Regions from separate parts of the Homo sapiens genome. Here region 2 is linked to region 1. Evidence: promoter capture Hi-C in 16 types of primary human blood cells and fetal thymus (Javierre and others, 2016). All regions are on one chromosome and are shown on one strand. The core of a region is centred on a gene start or on the middle of the fragment in contact, and the rest is flanking DNA. Distances in the headings are between cores, read along the strand shown. Region 1 holds the start of NKX6-2 (NK6 homeobox 2). Region 2 overlaps INPP5A (inositol polyphosphate-5-phosphatase A).

Region 1 (4,078 bases), core at 870-3,369:
CGCCAAGACTTCCACGGCTTACAAGAACGTGGGAGAGGGACCCCCCCTTACCCGGCTCCTCTGCGCCCCCAACTCACCCTGGCCCCTCATCCCGCGCCCCTGAGCCCTGGAGAGCCGCGCGCTCCGCAGCCAGTGACACGCCAGCCCCACCCGCGACCCCACGCGTTCCCTCGGCAGCCCAGGGAGGACCGGGGGGCGCAGACAGACCCAGGGTTTATCGGGCCGCAGCGCAGCGCCTCCAGGTCCATGTTTCCTCAGCCATAAAACAGCGCTAGCGACGCCCCCTGCCCCGCCCCTCCAGGCTGTGAGAAGAGCCAGAGCCTGTCCCGAGCGCGGCTTCCTCCCGCCGTTCCGCCCGCGCGCGCCTCCTGGGCCTCAGTTCGGGCGACCCGCACCCCTCCCGGCCCGCCCAGGGTCTGCCCGGCCGCGCAGAGTGGGGGATCCCAGGGCGACAGCAGCCCCCGCCCCCAACTCCCCCTGCCCGCCCCCCCCGGCCCCGCAGTTCCCGCGTCTCAGCTCAGAGCCCGAGCCTTGGGCGCGGGCGCCGTCGCCTTGGGGTGCTGGGAGGGGCCCGAACCCGACCCGGGAGGGCCCTTCCTCGTGTCTCCTCCGAGGGAGCGGGGCGCAGGACAGGCCGGGGCGGGTCTCGGGGCCGGACGGGCGCTGGGGGTTCCCGGGCCAGGCTCCGCGGGGGCCGATCACCGGTGGGGCGGCCGCGCCCAATCGAATCCCAATCCCAGTCGAATCGAGTGCGGAGTCGACGGGGGAAGCGAACCCCCCGTGAACGCGGGGCTGCACCTCAGTGGAGCCGGAAGCCGCCGGGGCAGCCCCGAGCGCGCACACACCCGGCGGCCGCACCACTGCCCCGGAGTTTGGCCGCAGGTGGCTTTTCCAAGCCGCCATCCAGGAGCGGCCGACGGCGCCAAGTCCCCGCCTCGACCTGCACAAAACGAAAACGGACGCTGGAGGGGGGCGAGGGGGCGGACGTGAGACCCCGGCCCCGAACCCCGGGCGCCGCCTTCCTCCGCGGCACAGGCCCGAGAGAGGCCACGCAGCGGCGTTCCCTGCGCACAGACTCGGGCTCCCCACGAGCCGTGGGCCACAGCCACAGCCGCCCCGTGTCCCTAAATCAATACGAGACGTCACCACAGACGTCGGAGCGTTTGCTCGCGGCCGCCGTGCGCGGGGCTCGGAGTCATCTCACCGCCCGGTCTGCGGGATGGATGAGCGAGCGGCTCCCGGTGCCGTGGGGGCGGGGGGGACACCGGCCCCCCGCGCGCGTCTAAGGCCGCGTTTCTGCCGCTGCGCCCCCAGCCCGCACCCACGTTCGGGCCCTGGACAGGGCTTCCGCGCTGAGGCCGTCCTGGTCTCTGTTCTCCCGGCCGGGGATTCGCGAGAGGCGGCCCGTGGGCGAAGTCGTGGGCCCAGGTCACATCCTGGGGGACCCCCAGCGGGAGACCTGGAGGCCGATGACGGGGAAGTGCCGAGCCGCGCGTGTGGTCCCGGGACCCGCCTCCCCGCCCCGCTCCCGCCTGCCTCACTCCTCCACCGCGCCGGCCGCGTGTCGGCGAAACCAGAGGCAGCTCCGTGCGAGCCTCGCCCGGCCGTGAGGCCCGTGGATTCCGTGGACTCGAGGCCCGCGTCCTCCGCCCTCCTGTGGCCCCGACCTGCCCGGAGCGCGTTCCCCGCCGGCGTCCGCTGCCGCTCACACCCACCCCAGCCACGGGCGGCGGAGCAGTCGCGACTGGGACGCGGGCCGGGACTCTTCCCCGAGTGGGGCGCTCCGAGCGCGCGGGCGGGTCCTCAAATCTGCATTCTTTCCGTTAATAAAATACGTTCTCGTATTTTTTCCTGATTTCGCATGAAAACCTTTGCCTAACTACACTCCCATCCAAGCTGGATTTATTTCGTCCCCGGGGAGATAAATCGGGGCGAATTTACAGCCCGGGAGGCACCTGCCGCGCTAATGGGCCCTTCATGGAGTGCGCGGCCGGCGGGGGCGCGCGGGCGGGGGGGGGGCGCCGGCCAATGGCCGGACCGCGGGGTCCGCAGCCAATCAGCGCGCGCGCCGCGCCCCGGGGAGCCCCCGTTATCAGCGCGTCCGTCCCGCGCGGCGCCGCTCCGACCGGCCCCGGAGCCGCCGCCGCCGCCGCCCGCCCGCCCGCCCCGCGCCGGAGCCGCCCGCCCGCCCCCCGCGCCCCGCGCCCCGCGCTGCAGCCGACGCCCGCCCGGGCCGCGCGCAAACTTCCCGGGCCGGCGGGCAGGGGCGGCGGCGGCGGGGCCCGGATGGGAGCCCGGGCCGGCGGCGGCGGCGCCCATGGACACTAACCGCCCGGGCGCGTTCGTGCTGAGCAGTGCCCCGCTGGCCGCGCTGCACAACATGGCCGAGATGAAGACGTCGCTGTTCCCCTACGCGCTGCAGGGTCCGGCCGGCTTCAAGGCGCCCGCGCTGGGGGGCCTGGGCGCGCAGCTCCCGCTCGGGACCCCGCACGGCATCAGCGACATCCTGGGCCGGCCCGTGGGCGCGGCGGGCGGGGGCCTCCTGGGGGGGCTGCCCCGGCTCAACGGGCTCGCGTCGTCCGCCGGCGTTTACTTCGGGCCCGCGGCCGCTGTGGCGCGCGGCTACCCCAAGCCCCTGGCCGAGCTGCCGGGGCGCCCGCCCATCTTCTGGCCCGGCGTGGTGCAGGGCGCGCCCTGGAGGGACCCGCGTCTGGCTGGCCCGGGTGAGTGGCCCGCGCGGGGGGTGCGGGGCGGGTGGGCGCGGAGGGGGACCCCGCCGGCCGCTGACCTCCCTCCCTTCCCCTCCCTTGCAGCCCCGGCCGGCGGCGTCCTGGACAAGGACGGGAAGAAGAAGCACTCGCGCCCGACCTTCTCGGGCCAGCAGATCTTCGCGCTGGAGAAAACCTTCGAGCAGACCAAGTACCTGGCGGGCCCGGAGCGCGCGCGTCTCGCCTACTCGCTGGGCATGACCGAGAGCCAGGTGAAGGTGAGCGCGGCGGGGCTCGGGAGAGCAGAGCCGGGGGCCCGCGTCCTGCGAACGGCCCCAGCGCCAGCCCCGGGCCCCGCGGCCGCCTGACCGCCCCGTCCACTCCCAGGTCTGGTTCCAGAACCGCCGGACCAAGTGGCGCAAGCGGCACGCGGTGGAGATGGCGTCGGCCAAGAAGAAGCAGGACTCGGACGCCGAGAAGCTGAAGGTGGGCGGCTCGGACGCGGAGGACGACGACGAATACAACCGGCCCCTGGACCCCAACTCGGACGACGAGAAGATCACGCGGCTGCTCAAGAAGCACAAACCCTCGAACTTGGCGCTGGTCAGCCCGTGCGGCGGCGGCGCGGGGGACGCCTTGTGAGGACCCGCGGGGTGGGGGCGAATCTATTTTTGCAGAATCCGGGGGCGGCCCCGGGTGGGCGCGAGTCGCTTTGTATCATCAATAAATTATTTAACGGGTCCCCGTCGGAGCCGTCGCTCCGGAGCCTGCGCCGCGTGTTTCTTCCGTCTCGAACCCGGAGCGAGGCGGCCCCTCCCCGGCCCCGGCTTCGCCCCTGCGCCCGCCTCGGGTCCTCCGGGTTCCCGGTGCGGAGGCTGCGGGCCCCGGGCAGGCGCGAGGAGGCGGCGAAGGCGCAGGGAAGGGGCCCGGCCCGCGGGAAGGAACCGCAGCGACAGCCGCCAGGAGCCCGGGACGGAGCCGGGGACGGAGCAGCAGGTACGGCCCGGCCCGCCTCGCCTCGGGGCGGATTCGGACGCGCTTGGGGGTTCCCGAAAGGGCGGGTGAGCCGCGTACCCGCCTCGAGTCCCCGCGGGAGGTTTTTCTTCTTCCGTTTTCCCGCTTTGGGGCCACGTACTCGTTGCCACCGGGCACCCGTTCCCGCTTGGCCGAGGGCTTCGCTCTGATTATTTCCAAAGTCCCTCTGCGCATCAGCGGATCCCATAGGCCCGCCCTGGGCTCAGCCGGTGGAACCGGGTCTGATCCGCTGCACGGAGGCCCTTCGGTCACCATCCCGCCAGATCTTCCCGCGGTGGAAAGCAGTTTCTTCCGAACTAGGACCGCAAAGAGAAATCCGAAATAATTCCGCCCGC
Region 2 (4,078 bases), core at 1,162-3,661, 130 kb after region 1:
TCCATGCTCCACCTCCCAGGGCAGGCAGCCATGAAGCCGTGCAGACCTGACTCGGGACAGTGCTGGGGAGGAGGCCCTGGTGAGTGCCAGGCAAGGTTGCCGCCTGCCAAGTGGGTTGTTCTCCTGATCCGGCCCTTGCTGTGGGCCTGCGTGCAGAGGTCTCCTCTGCAGGGGACGGTGGGTGTGCATCAGCCACGGCGCTCAGCACAGAATACCCATGGCTGTGCAGCAGCTGGACCAGGGCATGTTGAATGAATGGACTGCCATGGGAGCTGCTCGCTGAGAAGGAACACTGGATAACCTGGGCACGGTCATCCTTCAAAAGCCTCAGCTTAGACAGCAGCGCCTCCAGACCCGCGTCCGTGGATGCACCCCACAGGGACCTCATGGCCAGCACTGCCCACCACTCCCGCCTCACCCAGAGCTAGGGAACCCTCTGCCCATGGTCCCATGGCTAGATGGCCAGGACCAGCCCCAGAGCTACGGGCCAATGGCAGCTCTCCATCTTTCCAGTTCTGGACCCTTCCAAGGCTGCTCTCAGCAAGGTGCCTTTCTCAGTGCTCCAGCTCCTGACAGGACTTCCTGCTTCCTCAGCCCCAGGCCTCAATCTGAACCCCTGTGCCTCTGAGTCTGCCTGACACCTACAGGAGCACAGACAGGTCTCCCCGGAAGTTTGGAGAACACTGGCGTGGGGAGTGGCACCTGCAGAGCTGGGGACCCACCTAGGCATCTTCGCCTCCTGGGCTGCTCATCCCCAGGGCCCAGGTCGGTAGCCTTGGTGGCTGGCAGCTTCCACTGTGGACGGCAGCTGACTCCAGGTGATGGCAGAAGGAGCTTCCCAGGCAGCCTGTTGAGCACCCACGAGGAAGCGCAGATGCTGGCGGCACCTATCTTTTCAAACTGCCCCAGGCCCGACGCCTTCCACTCTCCTGCCGGGTGCATGGAGCCACCGGGAGCAGCCGGCGGCCTTGGTGGTCTTGGCAGTCTCGGCGGTCTTGGTGGCTTTGGCGGTCTCAGCAGTCTCGGTGGTCTTGGTGGCCTTTCGAAAGGAAAGCTTCTCAAGAGACATACAACCCAGCCTCCTTGGAGCCCAGAGGGCCTAGAGCATCCGTGCCCAGAGACCACCCAGCTGCGGGCAGCTTGCAGACACCCGGGCACCCATGAGCACCCCCGGGGGGCCGGCGGACTCAGCCCTGTGTGTAAACAGATCGACACGCGTCAAGGCTGCATCCAAGGCCCGGCCTGCAGCCAGGAAACACCCGTCTGCTCAGAACGCACGGAGCCGACCATGAAATTAACCTCATGGCAATTGTTTTCCCACCCGTTTGATAGCCCAATGTCAGCTCATCTGTTAGAAGGAAATAAAAGAGTCAAGCCTAAATGTACAAAAAATTATGATGGAAGGTCCTAAATAAAGCAGGCTTATGGAGTCAAACATCAATCCATCAATAAGGGAGTGGATTAGGAGCACCTCATAAGCCCCAAAGAAATAATGTGCCCAAACACTGGGATTTCACAGTGGAGGACCAAATTCCAACACTTTTAGGAAGTAAATAATGAAAAATCAATTCAAAGAAAAAACAGATCAAGAACCCTGGACTCTGACACATTTATTGCTGAATACCATTTCTCGGCTGACCCAAAAACTTCGGAAGGTGTTTATTTACTTTCAACACCTTCCAGAGATCAATATTTTTAATTTGGATCCGAGTTATTATTTTTCACATCACAGCAGCGGGGAGCGGAGTAAAGTGGCTCATATTTTAGTGCTAAAAAGATCGATATGACAGTTTCACCTTCACTGCAGCCCCAGCCGCACATCATCGCGTCCCACGGGACTGCAGGTGCTGGGGCCGGGGAGCAGGTCATTACCTGCCCGCTGAGGAGACAGCCCGTGATTTAGGGGAGCATGAAGGGCCCGGTGCCCTCAGAAAACCAATCTCGCCCCCTCTCACTTCATCAGGACTGTCTTGCCCCCAGGCAGGTGAGGAGGCAGCGAGCCCCAGGGCAGGGCTGGAGCCCTAAGGCAGATGAGCTTCCTCATCATAAACGCGTTTGCCTTTCCTTCCCCTTCTCTGGATCAAAGAACATCCGTAAACTCCATCAATTTTCCATAAATTCTCCCTAAAGTCTTATTTAGGAGAACGAGAGTGGAAGGGGGAGCTCACAGAGGAGGAGGAGGGAAAGCAGAAGGGCCTCTCCCAGGAAGCAGCGGGCCTCTCATTCCTGGGCCACCGCTGGGTACTGGGGCCCCCCACCCCAAGAGCACCAGGGCCACTGCCTGGGGGCCATGCCGAGAGCCTGCCTCTTACAGACTACAGAGCTGGGGGTGGGGGCTGTGAGCTGCCGTGCACAGCACTTGCAAAGGGCATCTGTGCCCCACTTCACTCTCCACAGACCCAGCCGCGGGGGAGGCAGACCCTGCTCTGCAGGAGGCCAGAGCCCCTGGAAAAGCCTAGAAGCCACCAAGGCGCGAGCAGAGTCCACCATGGCAGTGCTTGCAGGTCACTCATGGTGCCAGCAGAGACCTGCCCTCCGAGGTGCAAAGGCAGCGCTAGCGGGTGGGAGAGGGGTAAGCCCCCGGTTGGTGACCAGCGGCCACGTGCTGTGGCCACTCTGCCCAGCAGGCCTTGCAGGCTCATAGTTCTGCTCCGAGCCCAAGAGCCTTGAGTGAGCAGGCGGCGCAGCTTAGCAAGTGCATGGGGCCATCCTGGCTGAGGCAGCCTCCTGCCTCTGGGGCTACTCCACACGGAGGTCTCCTACACAAGGAGCTCAGACTTCACTCTCTCTTCCTCAACGCCTCGGCTTGTGGCTGCCCCAGACCCAACTAGGTCATCGGACCCCAGGCTCAGGCCTGCCCAAGTCCCCACACAGCCCTGTCGCTGCTGTCTGCCCAGAGACTCCTGGCACATGGGGTCCCACGGTTCCCCACATGCACCATCTGGGCTGAGTGCCCAGGCCTGTGGAGCCCTGCTGCATAGGGAAGGGTGCACACGCCTCCGGGCCACCTGAGCAGCTGTGGAAGGGTCTGCACCGCCCTGGGCCCCTCCAAACTGTCTCCAGCTGCTGCATGTGAAAAATCCTCTCAGGAGCCCGGGGCAACCCTGCTTGGTGCCCTTCAGGACCGGCTCACCTGGCCCAGCTGGCTGGCTGCACCTCCAACCCCTCCTTCTGTCTATGTGGCCACAGAGGGGCTCAGGCAAGAGGCGAGGTGGGGCAGCCCGCACAGCCACCTCCTGTCCCCAGCCGCTCCTCCAACCCCCTCTTCTGCTGACTCCTTGACTCCAGCTGGGGTCCTGTGCAGCAGGTACCTTCCCAAGCAGGGGGGACCCTCCGAGGAGCAGGCACTCTCTGAGCAGGCACAGCTGGCGGGGGCAGGGGTGTCCCTGGAGGCAGTGTGTCCGCCAGGCCACACCTTCTCAGCCCTCTCCCGAAGCTATCTTAATTGTATCAGCAGATAAACCCTTCTGCTCCAACTTTAAGCCATTAAAAGGCATGGTTTCTTCAAACTTCTTCTGGGTGGGTGGATGAAGAGGAGAGTGGGGCTTTCCTTCTCACACCCTGACCCCACTGCCACCTTCCCTCTAGGAGTTCCTCCAGGTGGGTGGATGAAGGAGCTGCATGGAGAGAGGGTCTTTCCTCTTGCACCCTGTCCCCACTGCCAGCTTCCCTCTAGGGCTTTCAGTCCGGTCAGGACAGTCCTGGGCATGGGCCCCAGCAGTGCTCACAGCTCCCAGCAGGAAAGCTGCTGAAGCAGCCGAAGCTTTGAGAGGCCACGGTCAGTGCTGGGAGGCCTTGAAGAAGCTGCTGCAGGTGCCCACGCCAGGCCCTCCTGGCCCCACCAGTCTGCATGGGACCCATGCCCAGCCAGCCACAAGGCTTCAATGGGACTAGAGCCCAGGACACAGGCTGGGACCTACACTCAGGCGCCTGCAGCCCCACGCAGCCTCTCTGGGAGGGGCGGGTGACAAGCGAACCAGAGCCATGGATGGTAAGTCACCAAGCTGAGCTGGGAGGATGGGGTGGCCTTGGCTCCTACCAGGCCCCAAGCAAGCCTCAAGTCCCTACAGTAAATACA

Evidence for each region. Contacts are between HindIII fragments. The CHiCAGO score rates a contact against its expected background, and 5 or more counts as called.
Region 2: a fragment that was not itself captured here is called in contact with the fragment with the promoter of NKX6-2 in region 1 in 1 of 17 cell types (endothelial precursors); the score reaches 5.6 in endothelial precursors.

Annotation. Positions count from the first base shown.
Region 1 is chr10:132,784,188-132,788,265 of GRCh38, reverse strand. NKX6-2 (NK6 homeobox 2) reads left to right here and starts at 2,119. Exons shown (of 3, transcript NM_177400.3): 1 at 2,119-2,723; 2 at 2,814-2,986; 3 at 3,096-4,078. The coding sequence starts at 2,318. The coding sequence ends at 3,350. The HindIII fragment of the contact is 11,480 bases long and covers 1-4,078 here.
Region 2 is chr10:132,655,739-132,659,816 of GRCh38, reverse strand. All of the region lies in intron 4 of INPP5A (inositol polyphosphate-5-phosphatase A), which reads right to left. Among named protein-coding and RNA genes, the nearest start is that of INPP5A, 120 kb to the right of the region's middle. The HindIII fragment of the contact is 2,709 bases long and covers 1,057-3,765 here.